2 separate regions of the Homo sapiens genome follow, and region 2 is linked to region 1. Evidence: promoter capture Hi-C in 16 types of primary human blood cells and fetal thymus (Javierre and others, 2016). All regions are on one chromosome and are shown on one strand. The core of a region is centred on a gene start or on the middle of the fragment in contact, and the rest is flanking DNA. Distances in the headings are between cores, read along the strand shown.

Region 1 (5,793 bases), core at 1,636-4,135:
GTGGATCACGAGGTCAGGAGATCGAGACCATCCTAGCAAACACGGTGAAACCCCATCTCTACTAAAAATACAAAAAATTAGCCAAGCGAGGTGGTGGGCGCCTGTAGTCCCAGCTACTTGGGAGGCTGAGGCAGGAGAATGGCATGAACTCGGGAGGCAGAGGTTGCAGTGAGCTGAGATCGCGCCACTGCACTCCAGCCTGGGCGACACAGCGAGACTCTGACTCAAAAAAAAAAAAAAGAATGGACTGACTGTTCGAGGTGACAGTATTTGGAAAACAACAATCACACACACACAATTCCAGAGGAATTAAAGAAAAAAAACTATTCCCACAAGAAGAACTTCAAGGAGAAAACAGAGCTTTAGGAGAAAACCCTCCTCTCTCTAAAAGTAGAGAAGGATTTTTCAACTTCAGCACAACTGACATTTTTGGCTGGTGAAATTCTTTGTTGTGGGAAGCTTTCCCGTGCGCTGTAGGATGTTTAGCAGCACCCTCGCTTTTACTCACTAGATAACCAATAGCAGCACCATCCTAGTGGAACAAACAAAAAATGTTTACAGACATTGCCAAATAACCCCGAGAGCAAAAATCTCTGCCATTTAAGAACCACTCGGATTGGGAATGATAGCCACAAAATACAAACACACACATAACAGACTGATAAATTAAAACCTAAAATTTTAAACTTTGTTTCAACAAAGATGCCATATAGTTAAAAGACAAGCAACAACTTAAAAAAGCAATAAGCAGGGAGTAAATATTATAAACACATATGAATAACAAAAGATCAAAATCCAGAACATATAAAATACTATTATAAATCAATAAGGAAAAGACAATCCAATAGAAAGAGATGTTTCTCAAAAGAGGAAATACAAATGGCTGACAATCATGAAGATGTTCAATCTCAATAGTAATCAGGGGAATGCAAATTAAAACAGCAAAGAGAAATCACTTTTCCATCCATCAGATTGGCAAAAACAAAAAAGATCGATACCATTAAATGATCAAAAGAGCATGGTGGGCCAGACACGGTGGCTCACGCCTGTAATCCCATCACTTCGGGAGGCCAAGGCAGGCGGATCACTCGAGTTTAGGAGTTTGAGACCAGCCTGGCAAATACGGTGAAACCCCGTCTCTACTAAAAATACAAAAATTAGCCAGGCGTGGTAGCGGGTGCCTGTAATACCAGCTACTCGGGAGGCTGAGGCAGGAGAATCGCTTGAACCTGGGAGGCAGAGGCTGCAGTGAGCTGAGATCACGCCACTGCACTCCAACCTGGGCAACAGAGCAAGACTCTGTCTCAAAAAAAAAAAAAAAAGAGAGAGAGAATGGAGGAAATTATTATCCACCGTGGGTGGCAGTTTGGCATTCCTAAATCCCCATACTCTCCCACCCAGCAATTCCACCTGCAGGTACCCATCCTTGAGAAATGCTCTCACATGGGCTCTCACAGAGGTGTGTGGGAAGGATGTTCTCCGCCATACTGTGTCTAACAATGAAAAACTGGAAACAATCTATGGAATCTTACATAACCATGGAATTTACAGAGCAAGTAGAAAGAATAGGTAGATCTCTAGGTACTGACAAAGAAAAAATTCCAAGACCCGTTTTTAAGCATAAAACGTCAAGTTGTGTAATGCATAAAACATGCATATTTGTAAAAGTTTAAAGCGAAATCTTACAAACATATATCTTATACGTACACATACTTGTCAAATAAATGCAAAGAAAAATACACACAAACTGACAACAGTTCTTATTTTGTGGGAAAGGGACTGGTAAAGAAGGTGGAGATGGAAAAAAACAAAATCAAAGAGGATCTGTCTTCCACACTCCCCACCCTCACCACCAAGAACATCAAGCTAAGAAAGATCTGTGTTTAAAATTTTTACATAATTTTGTTACAAGGCTTTATGCACGGACTATAACTAGAATATTTTAAAAATACATTTTTAAAACAAGCTCAACTTGACCAAATTTAATCCATCTTCCCCGCTGCGCCCCAACCCGCACTTCCTAATTCCTATGATTAACAAAACCTTTCAATTCCTTCTATCCTTGGAACAGAACTAAGAAAATAAAGTATAATTTCAATTTTGTGTTTTTGAGGAGAGGGTATATAAAGGAGTTTGAATGTTGGAATCATATCAAAAGCTTATCGGGGGATTGGTTTGTTTGTATTTTAAGGAGCAGATGTCAATTTTGTAATAAATAATGATTAAGGTTCTTAGTTTTGATCCATCCCAGGGATGTGAAAAGCCAAAGAGGTGGCTCCCGGCAAGGCCCAGAGCAGGGTGTGGTCTGGGAGGACAGGGATGGTAGCGAGGGTGGCGGCTCACACGAATCCAGGAGAGAAAACAGCAGCTGTTGCCGCGTCGAACCCGCAGCGCCCGAGGAGCTACCAGGTGCCGCGGGCGGGGCCTCCTTTTTAGCTGACTGGGACACGCAGCCTCGAAGGTCTGGTAGAGTCTCCCAGGGAGAGGGTAAGGGGGTCGAAAGGAGAGGCCCAAGGAGGGCGTGGGAGGCCGCGGGCAGGGGTGAGGCCCTCCTTGCGCACCTGGGTGCTGAACCGCCCCGCCGTGTGCGACGGGGGCGAGGGGGTCACGCCGAGGGGCGGGGAGAGGGGCAGGGCCAACTCGCTCCGGGACAGCGGGGGCCCCGCAATGTCACCCCCGTACACGGTAATATCCCCCCGCTCCACGACCCCTCTTAGTCTGCACTGGAAGCACCCCCTGCCCCGCGCACAATCCTGGTGCAAGGCTTCGCCGGCTTCTGAGCCTCACTTACCTGCTGTCTCGGACTGGGCCGCACACCTGCAGCGGGCTCACGTTAAAGACCTGGAACCTGTGCGGCCGCCTGCGCGCACCCACCCGGATTCACTAGGGCCGTAACCACTTCCGTTCCTGCGACAGGCCTGGAGGACGTAATCCCAGCTGGCGTGTGGGAACGGGCAACGCCATTTTGTACGGAAGCTACTGGGGCAGGTGATGCCTACCCAGTCTCTCTCCTCTGTTGAACAAAGGATCTGTTAAAATTGGAAGGGCTTAACGTCTTCTTCAGAAAAGTGACGCATTTGTTACTGGGATGGTATGTTTGTGTTTTGGTTTTGGCTTTGAAGGGAGAAACCTCCAGAACTCTCACAAATGTAATATGGGACATCGAATTTTCCTTCTTTAGTATCCTGCGTACTGTTTTTCTGCTAAACGATAACAGTAAATAGAAGGAAAGACACTGTATTTAAATAATGTAGTCTTCATTAGCAGTGCACATTATCCTATAGCCACTATAATAATTTTATGTACCCTCCTTTTTTTTTTTTTTTTTTTTTTTTGTAGATACTGTCTCCCTACATTGCCTAGGCTGGTCTCGAACTCCTGGGCTCAAGCGAACCTCACAACTCGGCCTCCCAAAGTGCTGGGATTACAGGCGTGAATGCCCAACCTATGCCATCTTTTATAGCGATAACCACAATACTTTTTGTTTATATATTAAATCGTTCATCCAATCAGTCTTTATTAGCAATTATATGTGAGGCAGTTAATCTGTGCTACATGCATGCTTTTCCTTTCTCATGGAATGTGTAAAACAGAAGGAGAAATGAGATGTGCATAAATAACCAATATAAGGTATAATAATAGCTACCATTTGTTGACTTTGTGCTCACCTGTTGCTAGGAACTTTGCAAAGCATTTTACTTATTTTTTCTCCTTTAATCCCCATAACAACCCTGTGAGGCAGTACTATTATTAGTGCCGTTTTACATAAAATAGAAAAAGGTTAAATAACTTCCTCAAGGTAATTCAGCAAGTAAGCACCGGAGTTAGGAATCAAACCTCATATTTCTGATTGCAGAGCATGTGGCCCCATCCTTTATACTATATTGCCTTCAATACAGGGGCAAATGTTTTAAATTCCATTGAATGAGTACCCATGGGGGAAATTTCCAGCTATTATAGAGGATTAACTCCCTGAATTTTTATCTGCTCCATCTTGAAACACTTAAAAAACAAAGGATAAAGAGGAAATGCAAATTAAAACCACAATGAGATATAGCTAAATGAAAAAGAAAATGTCAAGTATTGGCAAGATTGTGGAGCAACCACAACTCTCATATGCTCCTGAAGGGAACATAAATTGATGCAATCACTTTGTTTAACTGTTTGGCGGTATCAACTGAATCTGAATATGTGAAAAGACTTTGTTCCAACAATTTCACCCCTAGCTGGGGCACAGTGGCTCAACGTGTCATCCCAGCACTTTAGGGATTTTCACTGTGTTGCCCAGGCTGGTCTTGAACTCCTGGCCTCAAGCGATCCTCCCACCTCGGCCTCCCAAAGTGCTGGGCATCATGGTGTGCACCTGTAGTCCCAGCTACTCCAGAAGCTTAGGCAGGAGGACGTCTTGATCCCTGGAGTTTGAGGCTGCAGTGAGTTGTGATCACACCACTGCAGTCCAGCATAGGTGACAGAGCTAGACCCTGTCTCGAAAACAAAAACAACAAAAAACAATTTTACTCCTAGTTATATATATGCAACTGAAATGTCTGCATGTATTCACCAAAAGGACATGTACAAAAAAAAGCTCATACCCATACTTTCAACAGCCCCAAACGGGAAACTACCCAAATATCCCTGCTATTAGAAGTCACTGTATATAATGATTAATCTTAGGGTAGTAATAACTGGAAGGGAACATGAGGAGGTTCACGAAGTGCTGATAATGTTCTATTTCTTAATCTGAGTGCGGCTTTACATGTGTGTTCAGGTTATATTTGTGAGCACTTTTCTGGTTTCATATATACTTCGATAAAAGGGTTTTTAAAAATGATAGTAAAGGAGTGAAAAGTTTGTTAACCCAAAGAAGAAAGAACAGGAAAGGACATAGTACCAAACTAAAAAAAAAGATACAATTTTAAAAGATAGAAATTAGATTAGAATGGCAGATACATTGTATGCTTGTATCAAAATATCTCATGTACCCCATAAATATGTACATCTACTGTGTGCCCACAAAAATTAATAATTAAAAACAAAAAGAATAGCAGAATATTGACATTTGGAGGATTTCATAAAGAACTGTCTGGGTTCACAAGCAATCACTCTACATTAAGGCCCAGTCAACAAGACTCATCTGTGCATACAGAATTTCTAATCAGCTTTTAAAATACAGTTTCTCACTTTTAAATATGAGAAGACATCCAAGAATCACCAGTCATTATGGGAATGTCTGACATAATTAATTAACCTTTTCTAAGGAGCATGTATAGAACTATGTAAAGAACCCTCCATTCCTGAGGAAGACAAAGAAAAGAACTATGTCCTCAACGATGTGAAAACACAAATTGTTCTCAAATATACTTTTCACATTTACAGGGAAGATTTAAGAAAATTAATTTTGATTTAGGCCATTGATTATCTAACTGGTTGCTGTTTTTAAAATCAAATAATTTTTAAAAATGTAGGCTATTGAGCAACTTTTTACAAATTGCAAAAAATTGCTATCATACAGATCACATTCTCTGACTACATTGCAATTAAGTTAGAAATCAATCATGAAGCTGGGTGCGGTGGCTCATGCCTGTAATCCCAGCAGTTTGGGAGGCTGAGGCAGGAGGATCACCTGAGGTCAGGAGTTCAAGACCAGCCTGGCCAACACGGTGAAACCCTGTCTCTACTAAAAATACAAAAATTAGCCAGGCACAGTGGCCGATGCCTGTAAACCCAGCTACTTGGGAGACTGAGGCAGGAGAACTGCTTGAACTGGGGAAACGGAGGTTGCAGTAAGCCGAG
Region 2 (5,776 bases), core at 466-2,965, 1.3 Mb after region 1:
GCTTCAGTAATGAAAGGCTCTGGAACTTACTGCTGCTTTGCCATTGCTGAAGGCCTCACAAAAGGAATGGTGGTCAATGGATAGACATGAACAACCTTTGTTCACAGTTACCATGCTAAATAACTGTATTAAATGGATCATTTACACACCAATATGCTGTAATTTTGTTTCTCTAAATGTTTTTTATTTTATAATAAACATCTAAAAATATATAAATCAAAAACCAAATATAAATGCAATATTCGACATGCCTCACATTCATCCTAGTAACTTCTTGTGACAATCTTCATTGCAAAGATCTTTTTTGTTTAGGGCAAAAAACAGAAAATAACCTATCATTTGCTCCCAGACATTAATTACATAAAGTTTGAAAATAATGCCATCTAGTGGATATCTGTTTATAAAAAGCATTCTTTTCAAAATGAGCACTAAGATCCATTCATTCAACAAATATTTATTGAGGACCTACTATATGCCAGGCACTGTTCTGGGTGCTGAGAATATGGCAATGAACAACCACCACTACCAAAAGAAAAAGAAAAGCCCTTACCTCATAGGGTTTAAATTCTACTGAGGAAGACAAACAAATAAATATATATTATATATGAGGTAATAAGGCTGTAGAGGAAAATGAAGCAGGATGAGAGAATAGAATGTGACAGGTGGGGCTAGCGCTATTTTATATTTTATGTCAGGTGAACTGACAAAGCCTTATTAATAAGGTGACATTTGAGCAAAAGCTTAAAAGAGATAAGAAAATGAACCATGTGGATACCCAGTGAAACAGCACACAAGAATAGAGAATTATAACAAGTGCAAAAGCTTACATGTGGAAAGATGCCTGGTGTGTCTGAGAAACAACAAAGAGACTAAAGTATCTGGAACACAGAGAGTAAGAGGGAGAATAAAAGAAAACAAAGAGCTAGCCAAGGCCAAGATCACATAAGACCTTTAGGTCTGTGGTTTTTGTTTTTTTTTTTTTTGCTAAAGTGGTATTTTTTTTTTTTAGCTTTTATTTAGCAAAATAGGAAGCCTAGAAGCAGGAACAACATGATCTGACTTCTTTTTTTAAAAGGACTGCTCTAACTGCCCAATGGAGAAGAGGCTTGGGCAAGAATGAAAGCAAGGAGATCAGCTAGCACAGATAAGAGCTGGTAGTGACCAGTTAAGAGCTGGTAGTGACCTCACCCAGGGAAGTAACAGGTCAAGTGATGAGAAGTAACTAGACTCAAGATATAGTTCAAAAGAGGAGCTGAAAGAATTTCTTGGCCGGGCACGGTGGCTCACGCCTGCAATCCCAGCACCCTGGGAGGCCAAGGCAGGCGGATCACCTGAGGTCAGGAGTTCAAGACCAGCCTGGCCAACATGGCAAAACCCCGTCTCTACTAAAAATACAAAAATTAGCCAGGTGTGGTGACGGGCGCCTGTAATCCCAGCTACTCGGGAGGCTGAAGCAAGAGAATCGCTTGAATCTGGGAGATGGAGGTTGCAGTGAGCCAAGATCACGCCACTGCACTCAGCCTAGGCAACAGAGTGAGGCTCCGTCTCAAAAAAAAAAAGAAAGAATTTCTTGACTAATTGGGTGAGTGTCTAGAAGAATGGAATCACAACTTTATTGAAGCAGAAAAGACAAGATTCACATAAAGGTTTTGGTTATTGGTGTTATTTGCATGTTTTATTTCCTTCATGGGGGAAACAAAAATGCAGTTTTGGACATATCAGGAAATCCATGTATGTAAACCTATCCAAGTTCCATGTCATTACGCAAATGAATATGAATCTGAAGTTCATGGGAAAGCTCAGAATTCAGATATCAATAGGAGTTACAGCCTATAAAAGATTTTAAAGATCATAAGACCAGATGATATTAGGGATTGAGTACAGATATAGAAGAGAAAAGGTCCTAGGACTGAGTTCTGGGATTCCCCAAAGCCTAGAAGTTAAAATGATGAGGAGGATCCAGCAAAAGGGACTGAGAGGAGGAGGTGACCAAGAAGGTAGGTGTAAAAGAAGAGAGAATAGTTCCAAGAAGCCAAGTGGGCTGGGCATGGTGGCTCATGCCTATAATCCCAACACTTTAGGAGGCCAAGGCAGGAGGATCTCTTGAGCCCAGAAGTTTAAGACCAACCAGGGCAACATACCAAAACCTTATCTGTACTAAAAATTAAAAAATTAGCTGGGCATGGTGGCATATGCCTGTGGTCCCAGCTACTCGAGAGGCTGAGGTGAGAGGATTGCTTGAGTCTGAGGGGTCAAAGCTGCAGTGAACCATGATAGCACCACTGTACTCCAGCCTGGGTGACAGAGTTAGGTGAGAACCTGTCTAAAAAAATAAAAAGTCAAGGGAAGAGAGCTTTTCAAGAAAAAGTGAGTGATCAACTCTTTCGAATGCTGCTATTGGGTTGGATAAAATTTTTTAAATCAGTTGCATTATAGAGCTGGAAACTTAAGCCTGGATAGAGTGAACTCAAGAGAGAATGAAAGAAGGGATTTCCACTTTAGCCCACAAAGGATTAACTGGTACATGAATTGCACTAAAATAATAAGTAGAAAATCAGACAGAATACATGAAATAAGAGTTTTCAGGTACTGAACAATAGAAAGCTTGAGACTGTAATCCTTGAGAGAAAGGAAACAAACACAATGAGCTTACAATCACCTCAGTTTGCTCCAGAGGCAGTTTCCAGGCTGCAACACAAGAAAGGGAAAGTAAACAGAGCCTGGTAGACAACCTGAGTTGAGGAGATGGGGATCGGAGTTTGGGAAAGCTAAGGTGGCTAGAACTTATGGGGCAGAGTACCAGAGAGGAAGCAGGTGTGCAGAGTGAGCACTGCAAAGATCTGCAGAGAGGGCCACTTGAGAACTAATCTGCACATGTGTGAAGGGAAACTACTTGAGGTTGAGGAAAGAACCACCAGAAAGTATCAGACTGAACACTTCCTAGTGCCCACACAGGGTGAGAACAGTTCGGGTTTACACAAGGTGAAGAATAAAGAGACCTTATTATACACTGGGCATTGGGCAGAATTTTCAGAAGGATTTTACCTTAGTAGTGAAGCTAAATAAGTTTCAGAATAAAAAACCACAGTCATGTGCTGCATAACGACATTTCAGTCAATGATGCATCACTTATACAACAGTGGTCCCATAAGCTTATATAGTATATTTTTACAATACCTTTCCTTTGTTTAGATACACAAATACTTACCATTGTGTTGTAATTGCCTATTCAATACAGTAACATGCTGTACAGGTTCATAGCCTAGAAGCAATAGGCTATACCATATAGTCTAGGTGCGCAGTAGGCTATACCATCTAGGTGCATGTAAGTACACTGTAGGGTGTTCATACAACAATGAAATTGCCTAACAATGCATTTCTCAGAACATATCCCAATTGTTAAGCGAAGCATGACTGTACCTGGGATTTTTCCATAACAACATAGAAAAGCAACCTGCAAAAGGATCAAACTAATACTAAAATGTACCTTAAAACAAAACCTAACACTCTTGAAAAACATATGTTAAAATCCAGCACCCACCAACAACGTAAAATTTACAATGTTTAACATCGAATTGAAAAATTACCAGACAAGTAAAGGAAGAGGAAAAGATCCATTACCAGGAGAAAAATCAGTCAATAAAAACAGATTTAAAAAATTATATATATGATGGCATTCATGGATAAAAACCTCAAAACGGCTATTATTAATCTTCTACATTTGCTCAAGGAGTTAAATAAAGCAGGGGTTGTCAAACTGTGCACTATGGCCCATTGCCTGTTTTTGTCAATAGAGTTTTATTAGAACACAGACATATTTTTAATATTCTGTTTGACAAAATAGAAGCACTTCTACTACATTCTGAAGTACAACCATTGTCTCAAGGAAAAACATCTGTACAATTGGGTTCTCAGACTAAGAAGTCACTTTTTCCATGGGAGACCATTTTTACTTGAAAGAATGATTGATAGATAAGTTATGGTTTTTCTGACTTAAGTATTTGGTAGACGTTTTCTCAAAATGAGCAAAGTAAGCCCGACACTTCAAGAAAAACAAGTGGCAATATTTATTGCCAATGATAAAATTCAAGCTTTTAATGAAAAATCAGATTCCTAAAAAACTTACATCTGCTACCATGAGTTTGACTGCATCCCAATACTTAAATACTTTTTGTTCAGATCAGTGGAGATACTAATGAAATTTTTTTATATTGAGTAATAAAATGTGTCAACATTTAGAACTCCATAAGACAGTGAACCAATATTTTCTGAGTGATAAATGCATAATATTACAAAATCATGCATAGGTAAATATCCATTAAGAGCCTAAGACAGATGAATAGATTTTAATGTAACTGTAGAAAAAATGCAATAATATGGTTTCAGATTCTATATCACAACTAACCTCTAAGCAACTATTACTCAATTCCTGGTGTAGTATCAAAGAAGCATATCTTTAATTATCTGAAGAGACTATTAAAATATTCCTCCCTTTCCAACTATAACCAGTATAAGGCCAGATCTTCATATCTCAACCAAAACAACAGAGTGCAACAGACTGAATGCAGAAGCAGATATTAGAATCAGGCTGTCTTCTATTAAGTCAGACACTAAAGAGATTTGCAAAAACATAAAACAACGCCACTCTTTTTTCACTTTTTTTAGTCAAAAATGTATTTATTTTCCATAAAAAATACATGTAAAGTCCAGGTGCAGTGGCTCACATCTGTAGTCCCAGCTACTCAGGAGGCTGAGGCAGGAGGCTCTCTTAAGTCCGGGAGCTGGAGGTTACAGTGAACTATGATCATGTCACTGCACTCCAGCCTGGGTGACAGAGCGAGGCCCTGTCTCTTAAAAAAAAAACAAAAAACAAACAAAAAATATATGACAGTCAGTTTTGTGTCAACTTGGCTAGTCCACAGTCTCCTGTTATTCAATCAAACACTAATCTATGCATTGTTATGAAAGGATTTTGTAGATGTCATTAATGTCCATAAACAGATGACTTTAAGTACTAGAGATTATCCTACATAATCTGGGTGGGCTAATTCAATCACTTGAAAAGCCTTAACAGCAGAGCTGAGACTTCCTTTAAAAAGATGAAATTCCACCTATGGACTACAGCTTAGGCCCTTGCCTGAGAGTTCTAGCCTGCCCTTTCCAACAGCCTGCCCTATGGATTTCAGACAACTCCACATCTGCATATGCCAATTCTTTGCAATAACTCTCTTAATATATGTTCTACTGGTTCTATTTTCCTAATGGAGCCCTGTTTGGTACAATATGCTAACATGTAATGGCCAGGCACAGTGGCTCACGCCTGTAATCCCAGGACTTTGGGAGGCTGAGATGAACAGATCACTTGAGGTCAGGAGTTCGAGACCAGCCTGGCCAACATGGCGAAACCCCGTCTTTAATTTAAAAATTCAAAAATTAGCCAGGCATGGTGGCAGGCGCACTGGTGGGCACCTGTAATTGCAACTATTCGGGAGGCTGAGTAAGGAGAATCGCTTGAACCCAGGAAGTGGAGGTTATAGTGAACCAAGATCACACCACTGCACTCAAGCCCGGCGACAGTGAGACTCCATCTCAAAAACAAAAACAAACACACAAAAAAACACATACCATGTAATGGACTTACTGCATAATAGATAATAGTTAAATATTCTTTAAATTTTCCAGTTTAAATTCCTAATATGATAAATATCAATTGATATAATCCACCTAGAGTTTAAGGGCCCTGAAAATTAAAACTTTAAAAACTACAGCCATAAAG

The links. The method cuts DNA at HindIII sites, captures the fragments that hold promoters and counts their contacts. A CHiCAGO score of 5 or more calls a contact.
Region 2: a contact is called between a fragment that was not itself captured here and the fragment with the promoter of EXD2 in region 1, in 1 of 17 cell types (M0 macrophages). The highest score is 5.1, in M0 macrophages.

What each region holds. Positions count from the first base shown.
Region 1 is chr14:69,188,590-69,194,382 of GRCh38, reverse strand. EXD2 (exonuclease 3'-5' domain containing 2) reads right to left here and starts at 2,885. Exons shown (of 10, transcript NM_001193360.2): 1 at 2,792-2,885. All of the region lies in intron 3 of GALNT16-AS1 (GALNT16 and EXD2 antisense RNA 1), which reads left to right. RefSeq lists a silencer at 2,475-2,664. The HindIII fragment of the contact is 2,229 bases long and covers 2,161-4,389 here.
Region 2 is chr14:67,878,536-67,884,311 of GRCh38, reverse strand. The region is part of intron 5 of RAD51B (RAD51 paralog B); the gene reads right to left. Among named protein-coding and RNA genes, the nearest start is that of RAD51B, 62 kb to the right of the region's middle. The HindIII fragment of the contact is 1,782 bases long and covers 825-2,606 here.